Regions from separate parts of the Homo sapiens genome. Here regions 2 and 3 are each linked to region 1. Evidence: promoter capture Hi-C in human tissues and cell types (Jung and others, 2019). All regions are on one chromosome and are shown on one strand. The core of a region is centred on a gene start or on the middle of the fragment in contact, and the rest is flanking DNA. Distances in the headings are between cores, read along the strand shown. Region 1 holds the start of IFNAR2 (interferon alpha and beta receptor subunit 2). Region 2 has its middle 7.2 kb from the start of DNAJC28. Region 3 has its middle 6.4 kb from the start of LINC01690.

What was found. Contacts are between HindIII fragments. The study calls those that stand out against the background at their distance.
Region 2: a fragment that was not itself captured here is called in contact with the fragment with the promoter of IFNAR2 in region 1 in 1 of the 25 tissues and cell types used here (lymphoblastoid cells).
Region 3: a contact is called between a fragment that was not itself captured here and the fragment with the promoter of IFNAR2 in region 1, in 1 of the 25 tissues and cell types used here (stomach).

What each region holds. Positions count from the first base shown.
Region 1 is chr21:33,228,473-33,231,243 of GRCh38, reverse strand. It overlaps IFNAR2 (interferon alpha and beta receptor subunit 2), which reads right to left and starts at 1,306. Exons shown (of 9, transcript NM_001289125.3): 1 at 1,028-1,306. It overlaps IFNAR2-IL10RB (IFNAR2-IL10RB readthrough), which reads right to left and starts at 1,306. Exons shown (of 13, transcript NM_001414505.1): 1 at 1,028-1,306. RefSeq lists silencers at 840-889, 910-969, 1,030-1,489. The HindIII fragment of the contact is 14,450 bases long and covers 1-2,771 here.
Region 2 is chr21:33,497,521-33,500,327 of GRCh38, reverse strand. No RefSeq gene overlaps it. Among named protein-coding and RNA genes, the nearest start is that of DNAJC28, 7.2 kb to the right of the region's middle. The HindIII fragment of the contact is 5,228 bases long and covers 1-2,807 here.
Region 3 is chr21:32,951,121-32,953,820 of GRCh38, reverse strand. No RefSeq gene overlaps it. Among named protein-coding and RNA genes, the nearest start is that of LINC01690, 6.4 kb to the left of the region's middle. The HindIII fragment of the contact is 5,013 bases long and covers 1-2,700 here.

The DNA of each region.
Region 1 (2,771 bases), core at 57-2,556:
TATCTGCTACCCCCTCACCCCCTCAAGCCTGCACAGGTGGATAGGGGGTGGGTGGACAGGATACTGAGAAACCTTGGCAAGCAGTGGGACTTAGCCCCTGGGCCAGTGAGCACACATGGGAAACTCCACCTCTCCCTGAGCCAGCTCCGGCACTTCTCACCACTGAATCAACGCCCAAGCATGCTATATTCGTTTCTAAGACTTCTTGCTAAACAAAACAAGGAAATAAAAAAAAAAATGTTAAAAGAAAGGAGGTGGGAATACTCAGAGTCAATATAACCATCGCTAACCAAATAAACGGGCTGATGGAGTCAACTCGCTACTGCGTGTAACGGATTGATTTGCTCAGGGTTGAAATGCAAGTGCCGATCGCCTCTCCATATTCGCGGAGTATCTTCCCAGTATCTCCCCTCTCCGACCCTGGGAGGGTGCACCCTTCTGTCTCCGCGGCCACGTCCCCTCGCCCCTTCCCCCTCCTGCCTCCACGCAGCGGATCCGGAGGGGTGTAGGCCGCTCCAGCCCCGGCTGCAGTCTGTGACCCTGACGCAGGTCGAGGGGGGCTAATCCCAGGGGACCTCAAGGGGGCGGGCTGGAGATCCCGAACCTGAGCACCCAGCTGGTGAGCCGGTTTTGCAAGGCGGGGTGGACCTGGAGGAATGTGACCCTCAAACTTAGCAACGACTCACATCTTGCAGTGGCAAATGCCCGGTATCCTGGGCATCCTTGGTGGGGTGGGGTGGGACGCGGAGGGGTGCAACGAAAGCGGACTCCCAGCAGGGGCGACGCGTGGAGGGCGCAGGACAGGGCCCGGGAGGGGTCCTGGGGTCGCAGGTGCGGCCCCGGGAGAGAGGAAGGGCGCACTAGCCGCATACTCAAGACGCAGAGGGAGGGCAGGAGGAGGAGGAGGAGTCGGGGAGAGCGAGAGGGAACCGGAGGGGATTCCGGGAACCGCTGCAGGGAGGCGGCGTTTTCCCTCCAGTCAGCTGGCCACGCGCTCCGCTCCCGCGACCCCGCCACGCTGCGTTACCTTTGCAGCTCTCGCCTTGCGGCTCCCGAGAGATGCTAGCCTCGGGCCCCAGCCGCGCCCGGCTCTGGGACCCGACGCTCGCGGTCAGGATGCGCCTCGCGGGCGGCCTCTCGGACAGAAGCGGCGGGCGGGGGACAAAAGCGGCCCGTGCGGCCGGGTGGTGGTCCGCGGGCTGCGCTCGGGGAACTGTTCGGCTCGCCGGCGGGATTCCTACCCGCCGGGAAGAAGCGTCTTTAGTGCGGGTGCGCGCGCCGAGCCCCGGCCTACGAGGAGCGATACGGAAGCGCGGGCGCCGCGCCGCCGCCGGCGCGGGGGCGGGGGCGGAGCCAGGGGCGGGGCCGGAGCCAGGGGCGGGTCCTGGGCCGCTGGCGGGGCTGGAGCAGGGCCGGAGGCGGAGGCCGGGCCGGGGGCTGGGCAGGAGAATAGAAAAAAGGTCCGGTCATTTACAATCGTCTGCTGCCGATTGTCAGCTCCTAACCAATCCCGCCTTCGCCGAGAAAGCTCCATAGGGGAAGAATTTGGGACTGTTTTGTTTACTGAAGTATCCTTAGGGGTTAGAATAGTGCCTGGCATTTAGAAGACACCCAAAGATGTGTTGACTGACTGAATGAATGAATGAACTAAAGAGTGAATGGGTTCTCTCCTGGCTCCCCCACTTGTTAATTGTATAAACCTGCATGATATAATTCTCCAACTAGTAAAACGAGGATAAAAATACCTACCATTGAGTAAATGTTGTAAATATCTACAACATTATCCGTTGTAGATTCTCCCCTCTTCTCCGCGGGTCTCTTCTCCATACTCCTACCCTTCCCTCGACCCCCCACTGATCAACGTGTTTCGGGATAGGCAGAAAGACAGATGTTCTTCATTAATTTGTCTGCTTGTTATTTATAGCCTGTCAACTTCTAAAATAGACTATGAGGCCGGGAGCGGTGGCTCACACCTGTTATCTCAGCACTTTGGGAGGCCAAGGCAGATGGACCATCTGAGGTCAGGACTTCAAGACCCAGCCTGACCAACATGGTGAAACCCTGTCTGTACTAAAAATACAAAAATTAGCTGGGCGTGGTGGCGGGCGCCTGTAATCCCAGTTACTTGGGAGCCTGAGGCAGGAGAATTGCTTGAACCTGGGAGGTGGAGGTTGCAGTGAGTTGAGATTGCACCATTGCACTCCAGCCTGGGAGACAAGAGCGAAACTCTGTCTCAAGAAAAACGAAAAAAAAAAGAAAATCCAAAACCAAAATAGACTATGAGGCAGCTTTCAAGTAAAATGTATGTATATTCTAAACATTACAGCTACTAAAATGGAAATGTTAATATCTTTTTGAAGGAGAGGGAAAAGATACACTAACCACCTAAATTGTTTTAACTGAGTATTTAATCTCTCGTTCAGCTTTCTGGCCTCCTAGGAAAGGGAGGAGGAGGATGTTTCATACTTTTTGTAGATGGGAAAAATGAGCCTTTTAATCTATGAAGTCAACCAACATTTGCTGATACTCCTTTAAGGCTAGGCACAAGGGTGATCATAAAGAGGATGTCACGGTCCTGCCTCTTATGTGACCCTTGGCAGAATTCCCACCAGCCCCATACGATCTGAAGGGAACTTATCTAGGATCCTATTTCTTATAAAAGACATTCAACATTGAAAATATTTTCAGCCACAGTTTTAGAGAATTTGCAGAAATAGCCTCTGAAAATGGGAGAAATCCAATACCAAACTCCATGTGCTGCATGCACTCTT
Region 2 (2,807 bases), core at 175-2,674, 270 kb before region 1:
AGGAGAACCACTTGAACCTGGAAGGTGGAGGTTGCATTGAGCTGGGATTACACCACTGCACTCCAGCCTGGGTGACGGAGTGAGACCTTGTCTCAAAAATAATAAGAAGTAGAAGAAAGAAAGGGCCGGGCGCGGTGGCTCACGCCTGTAATCCCAACACTTTGGGAGGCCGAGGTGGGTGGACCACTTGAGGTCAGGAGTTTGAGACCAGCCTGGCCAACATGCTGAAACCCCATCTCTACTAAAAATACAAAAATTAGCCAGGCATGGAGCATGTGCCTGTAGTCCCAGCTCCTCGGGAGGCTGAAGCCTGCAGGAGGACTGCTTGAGCCCTGGAGGCGGAGGTTGCAGTGAGCCGAGATCACGCCACTGCACTCCAGCCTGGGCGACAGAGGGGAACTTCGTCTCAAAAAAAAAAAAAAAAATTAGCCAGGTGTGGTGGCACACACATGTAGTCCCAGCTACTTGGGAGGCTGAGGTGGGAGGATCACTTGAGCCTAGGAGGTTGAGTGCAATCGAGCTGAGATCATGCCACTACACTCCAGCCTGGGCAACAAAGTGAGACCCTGTCTCTAAAACTAATAATAATAACTGAGGCCGAGCACGGTGGCTCACGCCTGTAATCTCAGCACTTTGGGAGGTCGAGGCAGGCGGATCACTTGAGGTCAGGAGTTCAAGACCTGCCTGGCCAAAATGGTGAAATCCCGTCTCTATTAAAAATACAAAAATTAGCTGGGCATGGTGGCAGGTGCCTCTAATCCCAGCTACTTGGGAGAGTGAAGCAGGAGAATCGTTGGAACCTGGGAGGTGGAGGTTGCAGTGAGACGAGATGGCACCATTGCACTTCAGCCTGAGTGGCAGAGCAAGACTCTGTCTCAAAAAAAAAAAAAAAAAAATCCTAATAATAATGAATAACATTTAATAAGGAAATGTCCAGAATAGGCAAATCCAGAAGACAGAAAATAGATTAGTTGTTGCCTAAGGTGGATAGAGGTATTTGGGGTGACAAAAAAAGGGTACAGGGGTTTTTGTTTGAGTGATGAAAATGTTCTAGAATTGATTGCAGTGATAGTTGCACAACCACAAGAATGTACTGAAAGCCATTGAATGTACATGTCAAATTCATGATTGCATGGCATATGAATTATATCTCTAAAACTGTTTCCCAAAAGGAGAGACCCAACTTGTCTGTCACTCAAAAAAAACAAATCAATTTTTTTTCTTTTTCAGATGGAGTTTCACTCTGTTACCCAGGCTGGAGTGGAGTAGCGCGATCTCAGCTTACTGCAACCTCTGCCTCCCGGGTTCAAGGGATTCTCCTGCTTCAGCCTCCTGAATAGCTGAGATTATAGGTGTTTACCACCATGCCCAGCTAATTTTTGTACTTTTAGTAGAGACGGGGTTTCACTATGCTGGCCAGGCTGGTCTGGAACTCCCCACCTCAAGCAATCTGCCCACCTCGGCCTCCCAAAGTGTTGGGATTATAGGCATGAGCCACCGCGCCTGGCCTAAAAAAAAAAAAAAAAATCTTTTTTTATAAAAAATTTGATTCATAGTTTTTTTAAATACAACGAGTACATTGAACATGCTTCACATTCAGAACATGAAGTCTTTTAAATGAATATAGGTAGAACTTCCAACTTCCAGGCTTTGTAACAGAAATCATATTAAAGACTCAGTAGCAAGCCTAATCCTCAAATCCCCCATCTGTTAACCTGATAATCCTCATGTGTAAACTTATTTAAGAAGCTAACTCCTGAGCCACCTGTATTCTGAGCATTGCAATAAAGATGTGAAGATTTTAATATTACAAGTTGATTTTGCTTTATAAAATGAAAGTTTCATGAATTGAAATATCTGTGGACACTGAAACCTCAACAACAATTTTTTTTTTTTTTTTGAGTCAGAGTCTCACTCTGTCACCAAGGCTGGAGTGCAGTGGTGCAATCTCGGCTCACTGCAAACTCTGCCTCCCCGATTCAAGCAATTCTCTGCCTCAGCCTCCCAAGTAGCTGGGATTACAGGAACCCGCTACCACGCCCGGCTAATTTTTGTATTTTTAGTAGAGATGGGGTTTCACCATCTTGGCCAGGCTGGTCTCTAACTCCTGACCTCGTGATCCACCTGCCTCGGCCTCCCAAATTGCTGGGATTACAGGCGTGAGCCACCACACCCAGGCTTTTTTTTGTTTTGTTTTGTTTTGTTTTTTGTTTTGTTGAGACGGAGTCTAGCTCTGTCGCCCAGACTGGAGTGCAGTGGCAAGATCTCAGCTCACTGCAACCTATGCCTCCCGGGTTCAAGTGATTCTCCTGCCTCAGCCTCCCAGGTAGCTGGGATTACAGGCACGCGCCACCACGCCCAGCTAATTTTTGTATTTTTAGTAGAGATGGGGTTTCTCCATGTTGGTCAGGCTGGTCTCGAACTCCCGACCTCAGGTGATCTGCCGGCCTTGGCCTCCCAAAGTTCTGGGATTACAAACAGCCACCATGCCCGGACTCCCAGCTAATTTTTATATTTTCAGTAGAGACAGGGTTTCACCATGTTGGCCAGTCTGGTCTCGAACTCCTGACCTCAGGTGATCCGCCCACTTCAGCCTCCCAAAGTGCTGGGATTACAGGCATGAGCCACCGCACCTGGCCCCAAACAGCATTTTAAATTTCCGACATCACCAAACTCCAGAAAGTCACAGGAAAAAAAAATAGTTGTTATAACAATATCACTCAACTCCTTGAATGCTTCAGTTATATGCACCAGGAAAATCTACCACTGAAAATCATTTCAAATGAAATATTCAGCTGAGGAGTCTA
Region 3 (2,700 bases), core at 53-2,552, 280 kb after region 1:
AGAGCTGCAAAATGTCCTATATCCACTAACATGTTTCTTTTTTCTTTTTACACTCCAGGTTCTATTTTTCTCAGCCTATTCCGGGATCTGGACACATGAGAGAACAAAACATATGACATCAACTAAAACATCACTCGATTTTCACACCAGTTTTTATACAAGTTGATGTCTTTTGATAACCCTTTAGGATGAAAAGTGCTGACCTGTGTCCCGTCTTCGGACTTTATGTCAAAATGTAGTAGCTGGGTGCGTTGGCTCACCCTTGTAATCCCAGCACTTTGGGAGGCCAAGATGGTTGGATCATGAGGTCAGGAGTTCCAGACCAGCCTGGACAAGATAGTGAAACCCCATCTCTGCTAAAAATACAAAAATTAGCCGGGTGCAGTGGCGGGTGCCTGTAATCCCAGCTACCCGGGAGGCTGAGGCAGGAGAATTGCTTCAACCCAGGAGGCAGAGGTTGCAGTGAGCCGAGATTGCGCCACTGCACTCCAGCCTGGGCAACAGAACAAGACTCCAACTCCCCCCCAAAAAAAAAAAAAAAAAAAAAAGTTAGTTAAATGGAGCCATTTCCCTCCCTGGCTGTTTTATTAATATAATCCCTGGGTAACAGATAATTGTTGGTATATCTCTGCCTTAGGTTGTTACCATTCTTGTACAAGTTGGACTGAACCTAGCAAGGCTGCTATCTCTGCGTCCCAATTTAGTCATTTGTTGCCACACAGTTTCTGTGTTTTCTTTCCTCTCCTGTTCCTTGCAAGTGGCACAGTGAGGCATAAAATTTTTCCTTTAGCCTAGATAATCTGGCGTAATTTTCCTCAATGCTTTCCCTTTCCACAATGGGAGTCAGGTTTCCATTTGAAACAGTTTACTTCTACATAATAAGCCTTCTCTCTCTCTCTAACTCTCTTATTCTCTTTTTTTCAATCCCAGAAAATTTCATTGCAGTTTAGAATCTCAATAAACAGGCTGCTGTTGCCATAAACAATCAGGGGAAAAAAAGTGGTGTTGGCAGAAAATTTAGATCATAATTTGTCTGACGGGACAAAACAGGCATGCCCTCTGCTTTGTCTTTGTGTATATTTGGGGTTATTATCAGTGTTCTGGCTTCTAAAGCATCTTTCTGTGTTAAATACGGGGCTGGACCGTGGAAAATCAAAAAACAAACTGGCATTTGGAAGGGCAATAACTTTCCTCGAAGAAAGGAGACAGCTACCGTTGGCCTATTATTTCAAACTTACTTCTGGTTCTCCACATCTTCCAAGGTAACAAATGAAGATGGTCACCCACCTTCAGTCTCGCAGCAGCAAGAAAGCAACAGAAGCCTTCTCTCCAGGAATTAGTATAGGAAACCTGTTTGCTTTTAAAGTTCCGAGTCCTCCCATAGAGATGAAAGGGGAATTAAAGTGAGTTACCCCTGAGGAATCACCAAAGGAAAAACGGGTTGCTTTATCTGGGCTCTTCAGAACTCTTTAAGACTTGAAGATCTGGATTGAAATCCGTATAATACGTTCATTCACTAAGTCAAGATTAATAGCGTTGGTGTTGTGTCCTCCGGGGAGGGCCTCCAGAAGGCATTTGGAAATAAAGGTTGTCTTACTTTGAAATGCTTCCTCCACAGCACAGAAAAATTGATTTTTCCCCCAGTAAATATTCTTTTGGCATCTGATTTAAAGTCACTAAATGCTTTCCTCGCTAAAGATACCTTTCTCTGTCATCTCTTTCCGTCTCAAATATTGCCGGCTCTCACTGCTTTCTCCCTTCCCTGGCATAACTCTGGTTACAAATAGCCACTAGTGAGTGATATTTTGCTCTCACTTCTTAGCCATCCTATATTTCAAGGTTATCCCATTCTTTAACACTGCCCTTCAGGGTTTTGATAACAATCCTTGAAATCGCTGTATTTAGGACCAGAAATCCTCTAAGCTTGCTTTTCTTCTTAAACATGTTTTAAAATAAAAGTGGAGGGAAATCATTCTGAATTAAAATAGATTTCATATTAAGTTAGTAGCAAAAATGTGGTTTTATTTGCTTTCTGCTTTTTGCCCTGGAAAATGGGATACAGTAAAAATAAAACAGAACCCAAAGCACGATTAAATGAAGCAGGTGGCTCTCTGCAGGTAGTAAAGCAAAGAAGCAACTTGCTTTGGAAAGTTACATTCTGAAATGTACATGACTGTTGGGCAAGCTATGAAGCCTGCTGCATACTTTCAGAAGGACCCCTTCTGCAGGAACCTTCCAAATACAGTTTCAGAATTTTTTTTTCCTTTCACAATCTTTCATTCTTTCTTTGCATCTGGTTATGGTCCATTTTTAGTGGTTACTTTTTGCACGTTGGGAAGATTTTACTTTTCAAAGGCCTAAAACTGATGGCAATGCCTGTTGGCTCATTCTAAACCACCCAGACTGCGACCAGGGTTTCAGTCTGGGTTGTGCATGGGGCGATAAATCCTGGCGAAGCAGCCCTAATCCTCTACAAACCCCTGCTGCAAATTCTGTCCCTGCCATTGTGTTTTCTAACCAACTTGGGGGAATACCATATTGATCCTAAAAATGGGCAGCTTCTTAGCTTGCAAGTGGCTCCCTTTAAGAAGCACAGAGAACACGGCCTCAGGAAGCAGGGATTGCATCTCAGGGCAAAAGAAAGGGATGAGGTAAGACCCCGCAGAGGAATGCTGCCTGATGTGTGTGCTGGTTATTGTG